Regions from separate parts of the Homo sapiens genome. Here region 1 is linked to region 2. Evidence: promoter capture Hi-C in 16 types of primary human blood cells and fetal thymus (Javierre and others, 2016). All regions are on one chromosome and are shown on one strand. Each heading gives the region's core, a stretch centred on a gene start or on the middle of the fragment in contact. The rest is flanking DNA. Distances are from core to core; before and after follow the strand shown.

Region 1 (3,432 bases), core at 676-3,175, 48 kb before region 2:
CCAGAGGTACAAAAAGGAGCTGGTACCATTCCTTCTGAAACTATTCCAAACAATAAAAAAAGAGGGAATCCTCCCTAACTCATTTTATGAGGCCAGCATCATCCTGATACCAAAGCCTGGCAGAGACACAACCAAAAAAGAAAATTTTACACCAATATGGCTGATGAACATCAATGCAAAAATCCTCAATAAAATACTGGCAAACCAAATCCAGCAGCACATCAAAAAGCTTGTCCATCACCATCAAATCGGCTTCATCCCTGGGATAAGAAGCTGGTTCAACATACACAAATCAATAAATGTAATCCATCACATAAAGAGAACCGATGACAAAAACCACATGATTATCTCAATAGATGCAGAAAAGGCCTTTGACAAAATTCAACAGCCCTTCATGCTAAAAACTCTCAATAAACTAGGTAATGATGGAACGTATCTCAAAATAATAAGAGCTATTTATGACAAACCCACAGCCAATATCATACTAAATGGGCAAAAACTGGAAGCATTCCCTTTGCAAACCAGTACAAGACAAGGATGCCCTCTCTCAACACTCCTATTCAACACAGTACTGGAAGTTCTGGCCAGGGCAATCAGGCAAGAGAAAGAAATAAAGGGTATTCAATTAGGAAGAGAGGAAGTCAAATTATCTCTGTTTGCAGATGACATGATTGTATATTTAGAAAACCCCATTGTCTCAGCCCAAAATCTCCTTAAGCTGATAAGCAACAAACATATGAAAAAAAATGTTCGTCATCACTGGTCATTAGAGAAATGCAAATCAAAACCCCAATGAGATACCATCTCACATCAGTTAGAATGGTGATCATTAAAAAGCCAGGAAACAACAGATGCTGGAGAGGATGTGGAGAAATAGGAACGCTTTTACACTGTTGGTGGGAGTGTAAATTAGTTCAACCATTTGTGTAAGACAGTGTGGGAATTCCTCAAGGATCTAGAACCAGAAATACCATTTGACCCACCAATCCCATTACTGGGTATATACCCAAAGGATTATAAATCATTCTACTTTAAAGACACATGCACATGTATGTTTATTGTAGCACTGTTCACAACAGCAAAGACTTAGAACCAACCCAAATGCCCATCAATGATAGACTGGATAAAGAAAATGTGGCACATATACACCATGGAATACTACACAGCCATAAAAAAGGATGAGTTCATGTCCTTTGCAGGGACATGGAAGAAGCTGGAAACCATTATTCTCTGCAAACTAACACACAAACAGAAAACCAAACAATATGTCCTCACTCATCAGTGGGAGTTGAACAACGAGAACACATGGACACTGGGGGAAACATCACACACTGAGGCCTGTCAGGGGGTCGGGGGGCTAGGGGAGGGATAGCATTAGGAGAAATACCTAATGTAGATGATGGGTTGATGGGTGCAGCAAACCACCATGGCACGTGTATACCTATGTAACAAACCTACACGTTCTGCACGTGTGCCCCAGAACTTAAAGTATAATAAAAAATATATATATACATATGGGAAAAAATCATATTTTTCATAAGAATTTTATTTTTAATATAAAATAACTATTAAAAAATACATTTCAAAAGCATGCATCTTTGTCAGAAACTTTATAATCCAGTGAAAATAATATAAAATCTATGAGAAAAGCATCAACTAATAACAGGTCTTAAAAATATTTCAAATAAAATGGCCTAATTATACCATCAAACAGAAAATACCAATTGGGACACCATCTAGAGGAAGGAATACAAAAAACAGGCTAAGGAGAAGTCAGGGAGCCATAAACTGCACCTGGGGGAAAGAGCTGATGAAGACATCTCCAGAGGACTGAAGCAAGAAATTTAGGGACCAGGAGGATTTTGTTCCAGGTCACATACCTGGTAAGAAAAGACATAAATCCCTCTGTTCCCAGAAACTACCACAGCCTGTTTTCCAATAATTTCTTGAAGGCTATTTCTAAGTTCACTCTCCTCTTGGTAAGATGGAATTAACTACAGGGAATAGACCAAAAACCGTCCTTTCTGACACCTCTGCACCCTGGTTAACCTTTAAAACTCAATTAGGTATATATTCTTTTAAGGCCTGCCAAAAATATCCCCTGTGATTTTAAGGCACTGTTATACCAAAAAGTGATTTTAACTCTTATCCAACATCTAACATTCTTTCCAAGAAAAATCATAATCCACAACAGAAAGCTACTTCAAATGACACTTACGCAAAAAGTGTTGTGAATAATTCCATTCAACATGTCAATCAATGAATGAATGATTATAACAGACTAATACAAGGTCACCAATGTGAAAGTTATCACCACAAGGACTGGGGGATAAAAGGACTAAACGAAGATGTCAATAAAGACAATAAAGATATTATAATTTTGCCTTATTTACATTAAACCATCTCAAGAAAAGTAGAAACACAAGTTGCTCTGTTTCCCATGGTATGAATACCAATGTCTTATATACTTTTTTAAAAAGTTTTACTTCCAGAGAATGTGTGTTCATTGCGATTATCACCAGCACTTGAGTTATTTACTAAAATTCACCTCTGACAACTATCATACAACTTTAGGCAGGCTTAAGCTACCTTGCTTGGCCTAGAGAGAAGAGCAACAAAAAATTAAAAAGAGAAATCTGACACTCCCCATGTTTTCTAAACTAAGTGTAAGCAATGCTTGAGGGTGGGGAGTACCTGGGGGGAAAAATTAGAAAAGCAAGAAACAAGTACCAGGAAACACCAGGAAATCGTGTTTCAATACTAGGTCAAATGTATCACTGAACTGTCAAGTACTGGTACATTTACACAAATATTAAGGCTTGATATGGGCAGTAGGATAGGGCAGGATAAATGGTATGATAAAGTAACCATAATTTATCATTCAGTATAAATTTGTATGATTACTATTTATCACCATGAATATTCTGATTTAACATACTCTTGATCAAATTTGTTACCCAATAAATAACAATTTCTAGAACACTAAGATTGTTTAAACTGTTACAATGATTACAGGTAAAAACCTTATTACTCTATTCTCGTAGAGACATTCAACTCGGCTACATAATACTGGCCTTACTGAATTGCTGGAGTATACAGCAAACATCCTATATTTACTTGACATGCCACCAAAATTTGATGTACATTATGTTTGAAAATTGGGGGAGAGGTACATATGATGAAATTTTAACTATTTCAAAATAAAACCTCTGTTTTAAAGCCTGAATGAACCATAAGACTCTTCACTCAACAAAAAATCTTTCATTATGTTAACAGACTTTACAAAGCACTTCCTATATGACAAGCATGATATTAGATATTAACAACTTGCAGAGTTTCTTAATAAAACTTTGATGTTATAGTATGAGTGATATAAGGGGTGCTAGGTAGAGAAGAAAAAAGTTTACTTCCCCTTACTGGCTTAATGGCTGC
Region 2 (3,551 bases), core at 404-2,903:
ACTTGAAGACAAAGCTCAGCTCTATATGAATATTTTAAGTCACATGTACATAAAACACAGATGACAAAAGGGGTCGTTCTAAACTGGAGCTAGGCCAAGTGGATTACACTAAAAAATTAAAATGGCTAAAAAGCAATCTTCTGGGGTTAATGTATCACAAAACGTCAAAAAATAAATTCTGTTCCAGAATGCACTGCTACATAATGATTCTGCAGTTTTGCTGAAGCTTTATTTTCCGCAGTTTTAAAAACACTGTTGGAAAGCAGACATCAAAGGGTTTTCCTTGTCTAAAAAGCATACCATTACGGAATTTCCAGTTTTATCAAGAAGAACAGTTTACAAAATATATTTAATAAAGGTCTGGCTGCCTACAGTTCCTTATAAGGAAGACCATGTATAAATTTCATTCTTTAAAAAAGAACTCAATTTATGGGAGTCTATCTATGAGTAAACGAAGCTCCAAGGCTTGGTTTAAACATTTCCACTCTCAAAAAGGACTGATGAGTCCAATCTCCTTGAGAAACATGTCTACTTCATCTAGCTTTTAAGGAGATTCTAAAACGTTATGTATACATACACTTTTCTCAAACAAGCACTGTTGTAAATTTTTCACATTGCCTTACTATATTAAAAAAAAGGCTACCTTACAGATTAAAATATTATCTAGGAGGATTACCAAACTACGACCTCCTGATAAATGAGACAGCTCTCCAAGCCACTGTGACTCTAACCTTTCCATTCTAAATCTTTCGGGCGCGGAGGATGAATTTTTCTATCTTTTTGTTGGAATTAAGATCCTGCATTATCAGGAGATACAGAGTCAGGCTTAAAGCCACAGACTCCAGCAGCTCCTCGCTGCCCTAGCACAGCGGGCAGGGGGAGCCAAGGCGCAGCATCGCCTCCACGCTCCGAGACCAACACCAAGTCTCTTCACCTCCACGCTCCGAGACCAACACCAAGTCTCTTCGCCTCCACGCCGAGAGCAGCTGCGAAACGGACGCTCTGGGGTTTCAGCCGCACCACCACTTTCCTCCACCGCAGACCGAAGGGCCGCCCTAGGAGGAGCCTTCTAGTCCAGTCACCTCAGGCCCGTTTGCTTGGGGTGGAGAGTGCGGTGGATTCCTAAGCCTTTCCCCTAACGGGTGATTTCCTACACCAGACGCAGGACCCACGGTCCCACGGGTCCCAGGGGGAACTAAACCCCAAGGCTGCAAAGGGGCCACGGGTGGGGCCCACCAACATCTCACAGCCTCCTGAGGAGGCGTGCGCCCTGGACAGGAGGTCCCTGCCCCCGCGTCTGGCCCCTGGTATCTTCCCCTAGGGCTCCCGGCCGCCGCTCACCGTGAAGGGGACATCCCCGACGCTGCCCACGGAGTAGCAGTTGTCTCCAGGGTTGACAGCTCCGGTGAGGACCTGATGCAGATGCATCTCCGGAGCCCGGGCTGGACAGAATGCGCGGGAGGTGCGACAAGCTCCGCGCCTGACCCTCCTCGGGCTGCGAGAGCCGTTTCCCTCTGTGCCTCCCTCGGAAACCCGCCCCGCGGAGGCTCTGGCTTAACTCCTCGCCCCCCTTTCGCCTTCCCTCCGCCTCGTCCCTGCCATGGGAGCTCCTCGACCGCCGCCGCCGCCCGGGTCGCCGCTCAGCTGCGGAAATGCCCGGATGTTCCCACTGCCTGCTGCACCGGCGCACAAATGCGGGAGGGCAAGGGTGCTTGTGAGGCGGGGGAGGGCACCGGGGGGAACGCGCGAGCCGGGAGCGTGCAGCAAGGGAGCGGGCCAGCGCGCGCGCCCACCGCGGGGGAGCGAGGTAGAGCCCTCCCCCCGCGGCAAAGCTCTCAGCTCAGTCTTTCTTCCCCCCATCACCCGCGTTTGCGCGTGCGCGCGCCGTGGTTTCCAGGGCAATTGCGCGCGCCACGCCGACCCGCCGTCCCGTGATTGCGCGCGCAGACGTGCGGGAGTTCCCTTGGAGCCTCCCGGGCTGTAGCCGCTGCGGACTGGGGCGGAGGTGGGGGCGGGGGCGAGTGGGGTGCAGGTCGCTCGGGGCCACGCAGCAGTCGGACGCCGGGGACGCGCCACGAGCCGGTTTTGCTGTGTTGAACGTATTCCAGAATACAGTGTGCAATGGTCAGTGCCGTTGACCTCAGAAGGACACCCGTCACCGGGAATTTCCACCTGGAGATATCTTAGATATCTTCAGTCTTTTCGAAAGTGCAGTACATAAGATATTTTATTTTACATAAACAATGTAGGCATCTTGCAACTATTTAGAGAAGCCATACTCCCCTGAAAGCTAATTATTTTGCTCCCACCTTTTGTCACGGTTATTCTAGACAGCAAAAAGCCGCCTTAGAGACGGGTGACTCCTTTCGACTTTTTTTCATGAGTAATTTCATGAATTAGCAGAATCGCCTGATTTTCCAAACTATCTGCTAAACTTTGAATGGTTGATAACAAGGATCATCAGCTCCCTGCCACAGGCCAATTCATGGCAAATGTTCTAACCCATACTATGCTTAAATCACAGGGTAAGGAAGTAGGGGACACCAAGACATAACTATCTGTAAAACCAGGCAGAACGCCAAAGGTGGTGTGATTGAGATATAAAAGTCTTTATGCACCACAGAAGAGGAAGAAGAATGTTGACTAAGGGCGTGGATAAGGCATTATGGAGACATAACCTGACATAAACGCTGAGTTTAATTTTGACAGGCTGAGATAGACAAGAAATGCTGCAAATACAGTACAGAAAATAGAGGGGGTGTTGAAGGTACAAAGATTAATGTTTGAGGCAGATGATTTATAGGGTAGGGAAAGTAAATAATACTTAGCAAGAGATCAAGGTATCCAAGTGGTCTAACTCTTGGCCTACCAAAACATATTATGGAGAGTCTTGAATGCTCCAAGAAGCCCAGATTTCACTCTGCATGCAGTGGGGGTATATCAGATGTTTCTGAGCAAAAATTTATATAATCAGAGCTGCTTTGGGAAGATGACTTTGTAGCATTTTGAAGCATAAAGGGAAGGGTGGGGAAGATTGGAGGCAAAGATCTGTCAGTCGTTGGTAATCTTTTCAGTAGAAAGTTGCAGGAGGAATGAAAAATAATACCTAATGACCTGCGGCATTCTCTCTCTTTCTCTCTCTCCCCCCTCCCTCCCCTTCCCTCCCCCCCCCTTCCTCCCTTCCCCCGCGCCATATCCAAGGGTTCCTTTTTGTTACTACTAGATTCTAGATGAGTCTCTTAATCTTTGACCTTCACTGCATTAGAAACCAAGTCAAAACTATCATCAAACAACAAATTGTACTCAGGTTTCCAAGAGTGTTACTAATTCACATTATTTAAACCATTTCACATTTGGCTCTTGTTTTACAGCATTCCATGAAGTTTTGGCCCATTCACACAGTTGTGAAGTTGTGAGCCTCTTTCTTCCTCTCGGTATCAAACTCAAAATCTGAAGCCTGTATCCACCTGTTCTCTTCCCTCATGAATCCTTTAAATGGCTTCTTGATAGCTGTATCTTAAGGTTGCAAATGACTAATTAAGTCTCCTGGA

What was found. Contacts are between HindIII fragments. The CHiCAGO score rates a contact against its expected background, and 5 or more counts as called.
Region 1: a contact is called between a fragment that was not itself captured here and the fragment with the promoter of DMXL2 in region 2, in 2 of 17 cell types (M1 macrophages and monocytes). The highest score is 5.5, in M1 macrophages.

Annotation. Positions count from the first base shown.
Region 1 is chr15:51,572,348-51,575,779 of GRCh38, forward strand. The region is part of intron 2 of DMXL2 (Dmx like 2); the gene reads right to left. Among named protein-coding and RNA genes, the nearest start is that of DMXL2, 49 kb to the right of the region's middle. The HindIII fragment of the contact is 3,397 bases long and covers 228-3,432 here.
Region 2 is chr15:51,621,118-51,624,668 of GRCh38, forward strand. DMXL2 (Dmx like 2) reads right to left here and starts at 1,654. Exons shown (of 44, transcript NM_001378457.1): 1 at 1,342-1,654. The coding sequence starts at 1,428. RefSeq lists an enhancer at 792-1,201 and a silencer at 1,572-1,791. The HindIII fragment of the contact is 5,213 bases long and covers 225-3,551 here.